Linked DNA regions of Homo sapiens: all the other regions are linked to region 5. Evidence: promoter capture Hi-C in 16 types of primary human blood cells and fetal thymus (Javierre and others, 2016). All regions are on one chromosome and are shown on one strand. The core of a region is centred on a gene start or on the middle of the fragment in contact, and the rest is flanking DNA. Distances in the headings are between cores, read along the strand shown.

Evidence for each region. Contacts are between HindIII fragments. The CHiCAGO score rates a contact against its expected background, and 5 or more counts as called.
Region 1: a contact is called between a fragment that was not itself captured here and the fragment with the promoter of GRIK1-AS1 in region 5, in 1 of 17 cell types (monocytes). The highest score is 5.6, in monocytes.
Region 2: a fragment that was not itself captured here is called in contact with the fragment with the promoter of GRIK1-AS1 in region 5 in 1 of 17 cell types (monocytes); the score reaches 5.2 in monocytes.
Region 3: a contact is called between a fragment that was not itself captured here and the fragment with the promoter of GRIK1-AS1 in region 5, in 1 of 17 cell types (monocytes). The highest score is 5.4, in monocytes.
Region 4: a fragment that was not itself captured here is called in contact with the fragment with the promoter of GRIK1-AS1 in region 5 in 1 of 17 cell types (monocytes); the score reaches 6.4 in monocytes.

The regions. Positions count from the first base shown.
Region 1 is chr21:29,586,375-29,589,375 of GRCh38, reverse strand. It overlaps GRIK1 (glutamate ionotropic receptor kainate type subunit 1), which reads left to right. Exons shown (of 18, transcript NM_001330994.2): 11 at 334-537; 12 at 1,787-2,010. Among named protein-coding and RNA genes, the nearest start is that of GRIK1-AS2, 8.2 kb to the left of the region's middle. The HindIII fragment of the contact is 3,033 bases long and covers 1-3,001 here.
Region 2 is chr21:29,534,788-29,538,014 of GRCh38, reverse strand. GRIK1 (glutamate ionotropic receptor kainate type subunit 1) reads left to right here. Exons shown (of 18, transcript NM_001330994.2): 17 at 131-217; 18 at 630-1,082. The coding sequence ends at 785. Among named protein-coding and RNA genes, the nearest start is that of BACH1-IT3, 40 kb to the right of the region's middle. The HindIII fragment of the contact is 6,155 bases long and covers 1-3,227 here.
Region 3 is chr21:29,509,648-29,513,083 of GRCh38, reverse strand. No RefSeq gene overlaps it. Among named protein-coding and RNA genes, the nearest start is that of BACH1-IT3, 15 kb to the right of the region's middle. The HindIII fragment of the contact is 2,110 bases long and covers 728-2,837 here.
Region 4 is chr21:29,553,057-29,556,227 of GRCh38, reverse strand. It overlaps GRIK1 (glutamate ionotropic receptor kainate type subunit 1), which reads left to right. Exons shown (of 18, transcript NM_001330994.2): 16 at 926-1,176. LOC124905006 (a long non-coding RNA gene) reads right to left here and starts at 931. Exons shown (of 3, transcript XR_007067839.1): 1 at 1-931. The HindIII fragment of the contact is 1,868 bases long and covers 523-2,390 here.
Region 5 is chr21:29,746,504-29,749,840 of GRCh38, reverse strand. It overlaps GRIK1-AS1 (GRIK1 antisense RNA 1), which reads right to left and starts at 1,666. Exons shown (of 5, transcript NR_027021.1): 1 at 1,541-1,666; 2 at 696-1,007. All of the region lies in intron 1 of GRIK1 (glutamate ionotropic receptor kainate type subunit 1), which reads left to right. The HindIII fragment of the contact is 19,094 bases long and covers 1,628-3,337 here.

The sequences.
Region 1 (3,001 bases), core at 246-2,745, 160 kb after region 5:
CCAGGCATGTGGGCCCCCATTTCCCTTTGCGCCTTCCTTCTTCTCAGACCCAACATTTAACAGTGACTGTGTATCCATCACACCATTCCCGCACAGCCCCACCCTCCACAGCGGAAGGAAAAGCTCCCATCGAAAGACGCAGAAGGGAAAGAAACAATAATATAGGAAGTGTTTTGTATTTATAGAGGACATAGGCAGGCAGATGAGTGAATGACTTCAGTACTCTCAGCTCTTCAAAATCATTATCAAACATTTCACATCTTCAAGCTGCTGATAGGGTAAACTCTTCCTTTCATTATAACAGGGTTTTCATATTTGGTTTGTTTCATTTAGGAAGAACCCTATGTTATGTACAGGAAATCTGATAAGCCTCTATATGGAAATGACAGATTTGAAGGATATTGCCTAGACCTGTTGAAAGAATTGTCAAACATCCTGGGTTTCATTTATGATGTTAAACTAGTTCCCGATGGCAAATATGGGGCCCAGAATGACAAAGGGGAGTGGAACGGGATGGTTAAAGAACTCATAGATCACGTAAGTAACAATATTTCTAACATATCTGAAAATATGCATAAGAGAAAGTAAGAGAGGAAAAAATGATGTCAGAAGAAATGTTTCCTTTTTTTGAATCGTAACAATTTTTTTAAGAAGCAAAGTAAAACAGCCTGGAAATGGAGTTTGCTTACTTAGAAGGGCAAGTAAAGATAAAAATTAATGATAAAAATATATGGTGCATTAGTTTGTTTTTACACTGCTATAAAGAACTTCCTGAGACTGGGAAATTTATAAAGGAGAGATTTAATTGACACAGTTCCTCATGGCTGGAGAGGCCTCAGGAAACTTACAATCATGGCAGAAGACACTTCATCACAGGGTGGCAGGTGAGAGAATGCGTGAAAGCAGGGGAGATGCTAGACACTTATAAAATCATCAGCTCTCATGAGACTCACTCATAATCACCAGATCCCAATACCCCATGATCCAGTTACTTCCACCTGGTCCCACCCTTGACACATGGGGATTATTACAATTCAAGGTGAGATTTAGGTGGGGACACAGAACCAAACCATATTATATGGATCCTTCTTTCATACTGAACATAAACTTGAGTGATTCTTAAATTAAGAATTTTACACTTTGGGAGTCTGAGGCAGGCGGATCACAAGGTCAGGAGATCGAGACCATCCTGGTTAACACAGTGAAACCCCGCCTCTACTAAAAATACAAAAAATTAGCCAGGCGTGGTGGTGGGCGCCTGTAGTCCCAGCTACTCGGTAGGCTGAGGCAGGAGAATGGCATGAACCTGGGAGGTGGATCTTGCAGTGAGCCGAGATTGCACCACTGCACTCTAGCCTGGGCGACAGAGTGAGACTCCGCCTCACAAAAAAAAAAAAAAAAAAAAAAAAAAGAATTTTAAAGTTTTCAGCTCAGAGCAAAATCTCATCATGTCAATTAATAGTACAACCAAGTTGCTCATTCCTTCTTTTTCTCACATGCCCTTTTTAAAGGCATCTTCCTGCATTTTTGTCTTTAGTTCCAGAATGATGGATATATATTTGTGTATGTATATGTGTGTTTTATACTTTCTGGTTTCTCTTTGCTGATACTGTTTCATAAACATAACTGTATAAATTGGCTTTTTTTTATTAGAACCAACCATCACAGGAGCTTCATGAATGAGAAGCATTTAGAGTTGAGAATAAGAATCAGGAGTACCCAGGAAAAGTCTAGACATTTGCAAAGAAACTAGACTAAGCTGACAATTTTGGACTTGCTTTTGCAGAGGGCTGACCTGGCAGTGGCTCCTCTTACCATCACCTACGTGCGGGAGAAAGTCATTGACTTCTCCAAACCCTTCATGACCCTAGGCATCAGCATTCTCTACCGGAAGCCCAATGGTACCAATCCAGGCGTTTTCTCCTTCCTCAACCCCCTGTCTCCAGATATTTGGATGTATGTGCTCTTAGCCTGCTTGGGAGTCAGCTGTGTACTCTTTGTGATTGCAAGGTAAGTTTGAGAATCACTGAATTCACAAGAGGTGTAGGTCAGTCTCAGATTTCTGTATGTCCCAGAGGCAGACAAAAATTAGGAACTTTAAAGTGTACTTTTAGTTTTGCCTAGTGTTCTATTCTTGGAAGGTTTCCATATAAAAGCCGTTCTGTAAATGAATGTTTTCTAATTATTTATAAAGTTACTTTTAAAAGAGAGGAAGATAATTTTTAATATTAGTTTAACTTTATCCCTATTTCAAGCAACATAAAATGGTTATTTAGCCATTTTCCTTGATTTATAACAAAAGTAATGGCTCAAATGATGTGTAAAATGTTTCCATAGGAATTGTAAAATGGTCTCAAGATATTTGACCCCTAGAATATTTGGATAAGCAAAACATAAAAAAGTCAGCAAAGAATTATCATAGCAAATAAAAAACAGTGGAGTAAAAAGATTGTGAAACCCTTAGGAATGAAGAAAAATACTTTAAAAGTTCTATTAAATTTATTTTTAAAGGCATGAGAAAGTTAAAGAGAATTCTAGAAATAATGCTGAAAGGAAAGATTGCTTACATACAGAGCCTGGAGGCATGAAACCTTTGTGCTATCATTAAGATGATTCAATTGAGGTTTTACTTTTCGAGATTTAACTCTGTATTTAACCATTTTGCTCTACACAGTTCCTTAAAGGATTTTTATACCTTTCAATAGATCATATATTCTGAATACTTTTGATGCTAAATTTGAAACAGTTATTTTATCTTTCTGTTGGCTTAAACATTTGCTGTCCCTAGATAAACCATGTAAAAAATAATTGCTTTTGTATGTCCCTACTTGTTTTCAATCTTTTTCACCTTTCAACAAAACTCAGTGAACTTTTTCCCTAATCAATTTTTGTTTTCCCTCCAGGAATTTCTAAGAGAAATATTTCTTCATGCTAGCTCTTTGTCATTGTCCACTGTCTGGTTTTGATTAATGCCAGGTAACTCTTTCCCTGGTGTAATTAT
Region 2 (3,227 bases), core at 248-2,747, 210 kb after region 5:
TTGCTGTGAAGTTCAGTACCACATTATTTTTCATTTCGACCACAGCTGCATCATTGCTGCTGCCAGAATCTCTGTTTTTTGGAGAAAATGTACAATTTAAAATTGTTTTTTTTTCTTTTTTTTTTATCAGAAAGGAAAGTCATCAAGAATTAGATTTTATTTTAGGAACAAAGTAAGGTTTCATGGGAGAAAAAAACAAAGCCTTGGTGTAGAGAAGGTTTGTTCATTTTCTATAGCATTACTGAAGTGTCCGTATGCCTTGATAATCCTATCAATGTTTGGATCATCTCAGTGGGGGAAATGACTTAATTTAACTCTATTTTGGTGTCTCAGCAAAGGTAAGTTATCTATTTTGAGAGCCCTGAGTTTGCTTTAACTGGGTAGTTTTATACTACTGCATTTGTGAATGAAATCCCAAAGTTTGCCCAGCTAACTTGCCATCTCAGTTTCCCCGATTAGAAAAGGTGGGTGGCCAGCGGGTGGAGGAGGAGGTGATGGGAACTGGCCAATTGTGACAGAGCTGCCTTCAAGCCAATATCTTGTGTTCATAAATACCTAGGCAAGAGGCAGGTCAACGGCACATGCGATAGGCTTAATTAAGCTGATGGTCTGTATCTCATGTTCCCTAGTGTCTCTCTTTCAACGCTATCATGGAAGAACTGGGAATCTCACTGAAGAATCAGAAAAAAATAAAGAAAAAGTCAAGAACTAAGGGGAAATCTTCCTTCACAAGTATCCTTACTTGTCATCAGAGACGAACTCAGAGAAAAGAGACTGTGGCGTGATCCAAGGAAACGCCTGTAGGAAGAAAAAGGATGCATTCCCTACAGATTTTTGGAGAAAGGATTTCTGAGGAGTGTGTGATGTGTTTCCATATATCTATATCCATAACTCTGATTATGAATACAGATATAAGAAATACAAAAGTTTAAAAAGCTCACATAGATATGACTTGGGAAGTGACACCAGTTCTTTTAAAATAAATTTGTATGCTCAATTATTTTGCATTTTTTCTTTTTCCCCAATAAATTGTTGTGTGTGCTTTCTAAATAATAATAAAACAACAGGGTTTTTTTCCAGAACAAGTTGAGCTTGGTTTGTTCCCCATTACTTGCTCCCATTGGCAAAGGTGTGTTTGCTGTATGTCGTCAGTTGTGCAGTTTGCTATTTTGAAAATTCTTCTTATTGGTTTAGACAAACATAGTCATTTTGGGCTGAGTTTTAAAAATTACTTTTAGTTTATACCAAGTTACCTAGTTACTATGTGAACCAATTTATCTTTGTGTTCTAAAGTCTAATTTTATAAATAGTTTAAATGATACTCAGAACATTAGTGAAGTGCGCTGGAAAAGGATACCAGAAAGCAAAAATACATTCAAAAAGTAAAGGTGTTCGCCACATTCTAGGCACCATTCTAGGTTCTGGGGGTCCCATACTGAAGAAAACAGATATGGTCCCTGTATTAGTTCATTTTCATGCTGCTGACAGACATACCCAAGACTGGGTAATTTATAAAGAAAAAGAGGTTTAATGGACTCACTGTTCCATATGGCTGGGGAGGCTTCACAATCATGGCAGAAGGTGAAAGGCACATCTTACATGGTGGCAGGCAAGAGAGAATGAGAGCCAAGCAAAACAGGAAACCCCTTATAAAACCATCAGATCTCATGAGAATTATTCACTACCACAAGAATAGTATGGAGGAAACCGCCGCCATGATTCAATTATCTCCCGCCAAATTCCTCCTACAACACGTGGGAATTATGGGAGCTAAAATTCAAGATGAGATTTAGGTGGGGACACAGCCAAACCATATCAGTCCCTGTTCTCACATAATTAATTATAAAACAAAGATGAAAAACAGTATATTACTCAAAGCAGGATTAGAACTTCCTCAGAGGAAGTCCAAAACTGAAGGAGCCCTCAGAAGTATTTAACCTGGGGCTGGGTCAAGAAGGGCTTCCTGGAGAAGGGAATAGCTAACTGAAGATTTGCAGGTTCACTCAGATATTATCAGGTGAAAGGAGCCAGGCTGAGGACGCGGCATATTAGAAGGCATGGAAATAAGAGAGAATAGGGCTATTATGTTAGAGGAAAAATGAGTTTGGTGTAGCTAAAATATAAAATGCAAGTAAGTCCAATAGGCCTGATAGGTAGCAGTCACTCTGGCTGAGGGTAGAGGAAGAATTGAAGGAAAGAAGACCAGAAGGGAGACTAGAGGGAGGTCACCCAAAATATTCTTTCAGTAACTGCACCAGACCAAAAGCAGAGAGACCACCAGATGAAGGAGGTAATTTTGAAGCACAATCCGAACAGCCATGGATTCAGAAAGTGGTCTCAAAGGAAAATTCCAGGATTCAGGGAGGTGGGAGGAGAGCTTAACTGGAAAATTGAGGTGGCATTCATTGTGTTGGGAAATAATGGAAAGAAATAGGTATTAGTCAGTATTTCATACAACTGGTTGGTTTCTTCAGGATTATTCTACATCTCTAGGAAACTTAATCTAGTCCTTCAAAGTACAAAAATATTTTCAGACATGAAAGGGAAAAATAATGATCTTAAAAATGGCAATAACAATAACAGATATTGGACAAAGGTTTTGCTTGATTGTAATCAATATTCAGATTTCATATCAATCAGAATTTTTATTGACAACAAATAGAAGAAAATCGTTCATTAAAATGCATTAGAAGACTTAAATTAAACATTTATAAATTGGAGTATGATGAATCTGACCAGCTAAAGATGGTCTAGAATGATAACATATCAGAAGGAGGAAATACAAAGTTTATTCACTTCACTAAAAATTATATCCAAGGCATTCTATTTTACATTTTCTAATATTTTTCTCCCATTTTTAAATTTTTCTCTTATTTTAGAAAATATTACTCTATCTTTTCACATACTATTACAGAAATTTGTGAGAAAAGAAGTACATCAACCTCTAATATCTAAAATATATAGTATATCAATCTGGTTTATGGATATTTTAAGATCCACCAGCCTCTTTCGTCTTCACTTATACATAACTAAATTTTCATTCAATACATATAACACTTGCTATAAATAACTTCATTAAAAATATATTGAAAAACTGTAGAACAGGACTTTTTTAATGTCAACTATTAAATGTAATGCATAATCACCTTCCTTTCTCCCTGATATTTTCATTCTGAAAGTACATTTGACACATACAAATGTACCTACGTTTCTGTGTGCATCTTTGT
Region 3 (3,436 bases), core at 533-3,032, 240 kb after region 5:
CCAAGGTTTGACCAAGTGTTTTCACTGAGGATTACACTGGCATGGCTGACCACCCCCATGCTTGACCTCAGCTCTTCAGCCCCTCCAGAGGTCAAGCTGATACCACAGCCCAAAGTCTGCTACCATTATTCACATTATTATTAACTATCTGGCATGGCCCAAAGTTTCAGGTAAATAAAAACACTCCAGGGGCTGAACAAGGGCCAAACCTTCTTCGAAATGTGAAGAGTTTGAACAATTACCCCTGCGGAGTTAATTCTTTCCACGTTACCTAAGAATGGCCAGACTACAAATATGGTGGCAGAAGACTCCCAGAACTAGAGTCACAGGAGAAACCATAGCAGCCATGTGGCATCATCTAGCCAAGGCCTAGAAGTCAGTCAGGCAGCATAACTCTGCTTCATTCTATTCATCAAGCCGATCACAAAGGCTGCCCATGTTCCGGGGATTGGTTCATAGACTCCACTTCATGATGGCAGAACTATCAAAGCATTTATGGATAGATTTTTTAAACCACCACAGATGGTGGCCAGTACTCACCCACAAAGTAACAGGAAAAGTTCTTTGTGTCTTTCCTATTAATAAGAATTATTTTTCTTTTTGCCTCAACCTAAAGAGAAAGCACCTTCAAGTAAAAAGAAATAAACACAGAGAATTCTTTAATCAAGGCAAAAATATAAAGTCTAGGCTCAAACATAAAGACTTCTCTTGGCCTTAAGGAGAAGCTTTTTTGAGCAACTTAGAGGCTGCTGCCTGCTGTGAAGGAGGTGACCACGGGACCCCAGAGCCCCCCACGAGGGCCAGAAGTCATGCTGGTCCCTTTCACCAGATTTGCCTGGAGGAACTGCATCTGTTCTTAAAACCTACTCGCTAGACTCCCTTTCTTCTTTTTTTCTGTTTTTTTTTTCCTCCTACTTCAAACCCCATATCTACAAGTTTGTATGAACACCCTTCTTAAATCCTCTTAAAGAAACAATATCTATGTAGCAAACCTGATAGATGTCTTTGAAAAATATACCTCTTTCTACATGGCACAGGCAGTGACATTTACAACCTTGTTATTTTCTCTCATGAAAAAAAAATTTTTTTTTAATTGAGACAGAGTCTCACTCTGTCACCCAGGCTGAAGTGCAGTGCCACGATCTTGGCTCACTGCAACCTCCGTCTCCTGGGTTCAAGGGATTCTCCTGCCTCAGCCTCTCATGTAGCTGGGACTACAGGCACATGCCACCATGCCCAGCCAATTTTTGTATTTTCAGTAGAGATGGGGTTTCACCATGTGGGCCAGGCTGGTCTCGAACTCCTGACCTCAGGTGATCTGCTCCCCTCAGCCTCCCAAAGTGCTGGGATTACAGGCGTGAGCCACTGCACCTGGCTTCCTCTCATGAGAAATTGATTTTTAACTTATTGCTTTCAACACTTTTTCATTTAGCCTGCCACATTAATAGCAGACTTTTAGAAATCAAATCTTCTTTTATAAATGAACCCAAATCTCTCCGAAGGCAGAAAAATTCTTGGTCTCAGAAAAAAAAAAAAAAAAAAAAAAAAAACATGGAATTGCCAATCCACTGAGCCTGTTGCCTAGCTCCAGCGTGGGTTCCAACCTCTTTCCATAAGGGGGAATTTCTGCAGGTGGTCTGTGATTCAAAGAATAAAAGCTCAACTGTTCAGGGAAACATCCTGCTCATTCACATCCAGCTCCTGACTGGAGAGCAGTAGCACAACTGTGCCAAGGAAAAACCAGTCTACAGAAATGCGTATCCAAGTCACAAAGCCAGAACGTGGTGAATCATTAGGAATCCCTTGCAGATGTCTCTCTTGCAAGGCATTTCCAAATGCAGCCACCTAACAATGAAAGGCACGACAATCTTGGCCTGAAATCCTGCTGAAATCCAGATCATCATCTTGGAGAAGAGCATTAGCCATGGTCATCATGGTTTAGAAAGTCCTCCTAGGTAGTTACTTTGCATTCCTGGGAACCTGGTCAAACTTTCTTTCAAAGTGAACAGGTGCAGAGTATGTAAAAGGGAGACTATAGAGCCAAGGGAGTTATTTTTCTAGGTTTCCGATAAATGTGGCCTTATTTGCAGCACAAAGAACACTGTCGATGGTTAAAACACAAAATGATTTTGAAGTTTAATTTAAATTTCACCCTCCTGGCTATTTGTGTTTGTATTTCACTTCACTTGAACAATAAAGTAGCTTGGATGGTTTGGGGCATGCGGTTAAGCCTTTTAATTTCCTGGCCCTCATGCACTGCTGCTCACATGGCAGGGTGGCTGCCCTTAGCACAGAAGCAGAATTTTTAAATTGTTCATTGATATCTTTGGCCTAACATCAATACAATGTTTTGTGCACACGTCCTGTTGTCATATCCATCCAAACCAAACTTTGATGACGTCTAGGTCCCTCGATACTGTAGCAACTGCTCTTACATCCTGTTAACCACCCCGTGACAACCTGTAGGCAGGAATTCCTCAAAGATATGGCCCACATCTTAAACAGAATGAAAGGGAGCACTGGAGAAATTCTAAATCCTTCCACACTTCTGAATAAATTATTTCTTTGCTGATGATAGAACTCAGCATCTCAGGAAAATATTTTCCAAACAGTAGAAAAGTTATTTGAAGTGTTCTGAGACTCCGTTTCCTTTTCCTTTTCAGTGGGCTGGGAGTCTTTTATCAACAAGAGTAGCTTCTTTGGAAGTAGATCTTTGTAATCAGGAGGCAACTGTGCCATTAATTTACCAGGGTATGAATCAGCCTAAGCATGTCCACCTTTTCTTTGCCATTTGATTGTGTGTTCTTTCATACTGTGATTCATCTCCAGACCAAGCTTCTTTGTTCTCCCTTATTTTCAAATTAGCACAGCTTAGAGCCAGGATGATGGAAGATTCAGTGCTGAGAGAAAGAAGACCCATTTCCCAAGAGTAGTATCTTCAAATGCAGACATTCACACAGTTGCTTTTTATCATTATTTGGGTCAAAAGTGCATGACATATGGAAAAACAACAGAGGACATACTATCTCTATGTTTTTTAGATGGCACCCAATTTCATCATGTAATTTTGGAGAAGAATTTATAGGTAAAAAACACTTATGGAGCTCTGGCCACCATTCTGATATAAGTGCACTACAGCAGCAAAGATTAATAAGTATTCGCTCTCACTCTTCAAGGAATTTACATTCTGGCAGGGAAAATGGAGAAGGCAGAAATATACACAAATAATAGAGTTGGGTGAAAATAAAGGGAGGAGCAAGAGGGAGGAGTCTGGGAGCAGGTGGATGTTAAAGAGTCTAACCAGGATCTGGAGGCTGACAGCAAACTAGATGGAAGAGGAGCTATTTTAAAACTGAATCTCAGCAGTTTATTTTAGAGTCATTGATGGATTTGAAGATAGAAGATGAGACAGGATCAGGGGCAAGACATTAAATAC
Region 4 (3,171 bases), core at 207-2,706, 190 kb after region 5:
GATCCTGACACATGCATATTGAACAAAAATGCATGTAACATACAATCCTTGTCCACTTCGGGGTAGAGACTTAACATTTAATGGTTTTATAATTAGGTTCTATACGTCAAAATGTCTTGCAGGACACAATGGCATGCAAGGGTACACTCTCTTTAATCCAACCAGAACCAGTCTAAGGTCGGTGGTCTTCTTCTCTGGAGAAAGTTACTGAAATCAGGATCTTGTTTAATGAAAGGTATATCTGGTGGAACAGGGGCTGGAAGTCAGTGTCTAAGAGTTGGATGAGCTGTAGTTGTTTTAATATTGCTTATCTTGAGGCCAGTGCTTGTTTACCTCCTTGAGAAAAAGAAAAGCCTTGTAGCAGTTGGAGCATAGTTTATTTTTTAAGTCCAAGGCTGTGTGACTTAACCCTTGTCTGGCATGGCCTTCAGTTCTGTTTATAATTTGATATCTTATTGCCACAAATAGACTGCTCTGTCTGACCTCCCATTCCGGTATGGCTGCAAACTAAGTTCTTAAGCTTTTTCTGGGGTCCCTTTGGTTACAAAAGAGGGTCGTTCAGTCAATGGGGGCTTAGAATTTTATTTTTAGCTTACACAGTGAAATCTCTTGACATGTGAAAAGACTCATAATGATCTCACCAGAAACAAAGACATGTCATAGAATTCCTAGCTTTGCTTCTCCTTATTTAAAAGGAGCAAACAATCGGGGCCAAAGTTAATCTCAACATGTCAGCTATCTTCTTTCCAATTATATAGTGCCTTCAAAATATAGGAGTGAACTTTCCTGTCCTTTGCAAGTCAATTTGTGGATTGGGGTCTCACAACAGCCGTAACATAGTTATGACAAAGATGATAATTAAGAATACTTCTGGATGTCTTCTTCAACATTTTGGTGACCAATATCCAGATGGTTTTACTTCCAGGTTCTCCTTACCGGGATAAAATTACTATTGCTATTCTTCAACTCCAAGAAGAAGGGAAGCTGCATATGATGAAAGAGAAGTGGTGGCGTGGGAATGGCTGCCCCGAGGAAGACAACAAAGAAGCCAGTGCCCTGGGAGTGGAAAATATTGGAGGCATCTTCATTGTTCTGGCTGCCGGACTGGTCCTTTCTGTATTTGTAGCTATTGGAGAATTCATATACAAATCACGGAAGAATAATGATATTGAACAGGTGAGTCATCTCTTTCTAGGACTGGTTAGTTTATAGTTTGCATTATCTGTCTTAAGTTTGGGGGTTTTTAAGGATGTTTGCTCTTTTTCAGTCTATTGAATTAGATGCCCAGAAGAGCCATTTTTGAGTTAGAGCAGAGAGCTATTGAATCCCTGCCAGGTGCTGTGGGCACTGCAGGTCCATCATTTATTAACGACAAGGAAGGGGCTTATACACTAAATCCAATTAGCATTATTTGGAAAGACAGTGCAGAAATTCCAAACTCAGTTAATTTTTGAACTGTTGTTTGCTCGTAAGATAGAAACCCTAGATGGAAAAAGGCAAAAATAAATCCAAAATTGGAAAAGATATAAAAAGATATTTAACAGAAATGTTACCAGCCCTTAAGTATAGATTCTGAGCACATGTACTAATGCAAAACAATTTATATAAATATGTAAAAGTCATACTACGAAATTGAACACTTCTATCAAAGTAAGATTTGTAAAAGGATATATCACCTCAAATTTTTTTTTGCCAGGAATGTCATAAACAATACAAAATGAAAATGCAATGTATATGAGACTTTATTTTTCTAAATTGTGTTTGGGATTATAGGACAACTTTAGTAGTTGACCATTTTTGCCTACTACTTTTATTTCTGAAGGAAATCACACCATTTTTGAAGGAAATCAACTTACACTCTTTTGAAAAGGCTGATTGTGATTTAAGATAATTCCTTCATAACCATGCTAGAATAAACAAAATATAAAGTTTATGGTCATCATAGTGAATCAGGCTCTGCTTTGAATTTTTAAATATTGTTAGAATTTTAAGACTATGACTATTAATGACAGAGCCAGTTTAATGCTCTCCTGTCATCTTGAAATTCTAAATAATTTTTGAACAAAGTGTCCCATATTTTCATTTCGCACTGGACCCTGCAAATTATGTGGCTGGTTCTGATTAATAATCTGATAATAGATCCACTTTCTTTAAGTGGAAGCCCTCCTTAAGGGCCCAAAACTGGGGATGATTCATTATAACCTGGTTTCACATGAAAATCTTCCCCAGAATTACAAGGCAACTATGACAACAATGAACACCCCTTTCCAAAGCTCTTGTTATAAGAAGCTGTTTCTTTAATTCAAAGGGAGAATGAACTGATCTGCTTTAACTTTCAATTTGCTCTTGAGGTGTCTTGTTTTATGCAACTAATTTGGAAAATAAAAGCTTGTATATATGATGCTTTAATGTGCTTTTCATAGTTGCCAGCTTCATGTGATGTAAATTTTCATTTAAACATTCATTCTTGCTTCTGATTTATTCATTTTTCTATATTTTTTTCTCATTTCTTTTGCATGCAAGGCTTTTTGTTTCTTTTATGGACTGCAATGTAAGCAAACCCATCCAACCAACTCCACTTCTGGAACTACTTTATCTACGGATTTAGAATGTGGTAAATTAATTCGAGAGGAGAGAGGGATTCGAAAACAGTCCTCAGTTCATACTGTGTAATCAGTTTAAAAAAAAAAAAAAAGATGTGCCCAGTAGAAAATGTTTTTGCTAATTGGTGTTGTTGATATTTGTATTTGCTAAGCATAAATAGCCACAATTCTCTATTCCTTTAGGATAGCAAAACTCATGTATTCTAGACATTGAAATGAATACACTGGAAAGATACTTGCACTGTATGTTGAAGCAGGGGCATATTAGGGGTATAAAGACTTCTAGAAATGTGTATTTACAGGAATCTTCTCTGTCCCACTCATCATCTTAGTTCTATCTTCATGCATTAAAAATAAGTAACTCTTCCTTCATGAAAAAGGAGATTCAGACTTTCAACAGGGCAAAGCATGGAAACACGATGCTAATTCTATGGACTTCTTTTCATCTTTGTGAACTTTGTTCCCTCCTCTTTTCTTCTCCCTGTCTCATATATTGTGTAGATCTGCGTATTTTCAAACTACCCAAAACCCTTACCTTTTCAACAGTACACACATAACTCCATAACAA
Region 5 (3,337 bases), core at 417-2,916:
AGATAAGAAATTGAGACTCAGAGGAGTTAAATAATTTAATGAAATTCACACAGATAATAAATTTTATAGTTGAAATATATAAGCAGTTCTTCTGACTTTAAAATATGATCCTTCCCACCCCCATATATCAAGTTGCATGTTTTTGCTTGCTGCCTTTTAAAAAGTAGAAATAATCCTCGGTCAAATGCTGCACATGAATTCACATTAAAGTGTCTGCACTCTCCTGCTGATAAAGACCCAAATGTGGCAGAAATGGTACAGAAGAGGAGGCAGCTTGGGATTTGGCAGTCTTGTGAAGATTCAGCCATGGCTATAAACAAGGGTATGTGGAATCCAATGGGAGCCTTCTTAACTACCACATCCCAAAGAAGTAACAGAGAGCTCAAGCCCTTCAGCCCATTTCACAGATGGAGATGCTGAGGCCAAGGCTATTAGACACGTCCACTATGCTACGTTAGATCGGTGACAAAGCTGATTCTCCTGACTTCCAGTCTAGTGAGCTTTCTATCATCCAGTCCTGTCCCTATGTGATCAGCTGCATAAATTCTGAGTAAAACAACTGACTATATTGTTCAATATCCACTGTAACATGCAACTTGCTCATCAGAAAGTTAAGGCTAACTTTTTCCCCAACAGGAAAGTCAGAAACAAATCATTTTTAGTAATAATGAAGCTCTGTTAGAAGTACCACTCACCTTAAAAATATGTTTAGGAATTATTAATATACTCTCAGCATTCTGATTTTCCTGGCTTTCTGAAGCTAAGATGTTGCAGGAGAGCCTTCGTGGCTTTGATCACAGGCAATCAAAGAGGACTTTGTGTAGCTTCCAGGGACACGCTGTTGCTGGAAAAGTCGGAGCTCTGCTATGCAAAAGAAACTGCTACAGAAATCCCCTTCATTCTTAACTCCAGATCGAATTAGGATCAGAAGGCTCTTGTTCGCTGCCCAGGAGTCTGTGGTTTTAATTTTCTTATCTGCATTTTTCTTTCCTGCCCGTTCCAGGTAGCTGTCACAAAAAATATGAAAAGGGTGTTAATTTGTTGATCGTTCTTTGCTGCTTCTCACTTTCATGTTTACAGCAAGGAGAAGAGCAATTGTTTCTACCAGTAGCTTTAGTATTTTGAGTTCTCATGTGTGTAATAACTATCTTGGTAGGCCCAGAACACACAATCTCATCCAATTTTGAAATTTGGATTTTATGCCAGATGGATTATTTCAGTACGGATTACAAATGCTTATACTATTCTGCCTAGCAGAGTTTGGGTCATAAAAATCATTAAATGTAAAACATTGCACAAAGTTGCCCAAATTGTCATGTCTCTGGCCAAATTTGTGGAAATAAAAGGAGCCATGCATTTGGGTTATTTCTACAGTTTGGAAACTTTGACTCTTATCTTCTCTTAAGCTACTCAGGAAATTTCCAGACTCTAAAATCTGAGAGGAATTGTTCAGACAGACAAAGGTGGTCCAGAATGGAGACTTTCCTGATGCCAAGGATGGCAGGACCCGTGAGTGTCCACTTCACCCCTGTGATCCTACCTCTCGTGAGGCTTTACTGATGACCTTGGCTTCCTCTTTGATGAAACTTTTGGTGGCTGAGCCTCTTGAAACTGACTTGGACAAGCTTGGACAAACAACCTTCTTTTGAATCAACAGAGTGTAACTGAAATACCGTTGGAAAATTCAAACAATACTCTGATTAATGCCAGGGAGAAACAATATGTAAATAAACCCAAGAACTTAAATGAATACTTAAGAAACATACACCTTGCTTTCACAGTGTTAGCTGGAACTCAGGAAAGGGGTGTTGGAAAAAGTGGAGGTGGCATGTCTCTTTTATTTTATTGTTTGAGATGAAACGGGATTAAGCATGTTTAAATTCTAAGGGAGAAAAAGGTTGCTGTAAATTGTGACTTTAAAAAGACTGACATTAAATCACAGAATATTTCTTCAGTGGGCTACTGAAATTTATGTCTGTAATCACTACTCATGCTTTCTATTCTTTTTTCTTTGAGATGGAGTCATGCTCTGTCGCCAGGCTGAAGTGCAGTGGTGCAATCTCTGCTCACTGCCAGCTCTGCCTCCCAGGTTCAAGCGATTCTCCTGCCTCAGCCTCCCGAGTAGCTGGAACTACAGGCACGTGCCACCACGCCCAGCTAATTTTTGTATTTTTAGTAGAGACGGGGTTTCACCATATTGGCCAGGATGGTCTCGATCTCCTGACCTCGTGATCCACCTGCCTCAGCCTACCAAAGTGCTGGGATTATAGGTGTGAGCCACCCGGCCTGGCCCATGCTTTCTATTCTTTCTTCAACAACTGATACTATCTTTCTTCAACCAACTGATACTTTCTGCCTTCGCCTCTTCTCAGGGTCTGCCTTGTTTACCTTAACCCCTGCAGGAAGCCAGATCACAATTGGAGATTTCCTTCCTGATCATGTAAAGAGAACACAACAAGGATTTGGGAGATTAATCTGATGTGTAAGAGCTAGACATATCCTACTCAAAAGGATGCTCTTACTCCCTAGCCAGGACCATGCATAAATGGCATGCCCATATTGCTCTGAGACTTTCTTTTCCCTTATCTTCCCATGGCTGTGCAGACATCAGTTGAGACTATATTCTTTCTTAGTACTCTAATACATTCAGGCAGGTTACAATCAAGTCTTGCAGTCCTGGGAGCTCTTTTGTCTATTTAAGGTAACTGTGATTCTCTACTTTTATTTATTATTTGTTTGGCTCATAGTTTAGCTCTCAGGGAACAATTTTATTTTCATTATTCCTAAGTTCTTGGGAGACACCTTATGGTATCCAACAAAGACTAACAACACCATGCAGCAGTGCAAATTCACTCTAAGTAAACCGATGAAAAATAGACCTTTAATCTGATTGAGGTGTAGAAAATGGCTACCTAAAAGTGATACTTTTTCCTTTTGATTATTTTGTATGGCAGTACCTTGAGTAGGGAAAAAATGTTTTCTTTTTCTCTGTGTGTAAAAATCACCAAAAGTTACTTTGAACATCAAAAGAACACCACTTTAAATTGCATTTCTGGTTGTTCCCTTCAATTGGCAATTCTCTGGTTTATATTTGTGTGTCATCTCTTTTAATGTCCTCTCTAAACCTGTTGCTCAATGATTCATTAAAATTGATAACACCCTACTTCAGATCAGCCAAGTCCTTTCACTTGAACTTTTTCTCATAGTCACTTTACAATTACAATCATTGAGTAAAATCTTAACTCTCTTGAGTGAACATTTATGATTTTCTGAATTAGCCGGAATGATATCAATACATGTGTTAGTGTGCACATGTGTGTAGACAGAGAAAATGAGA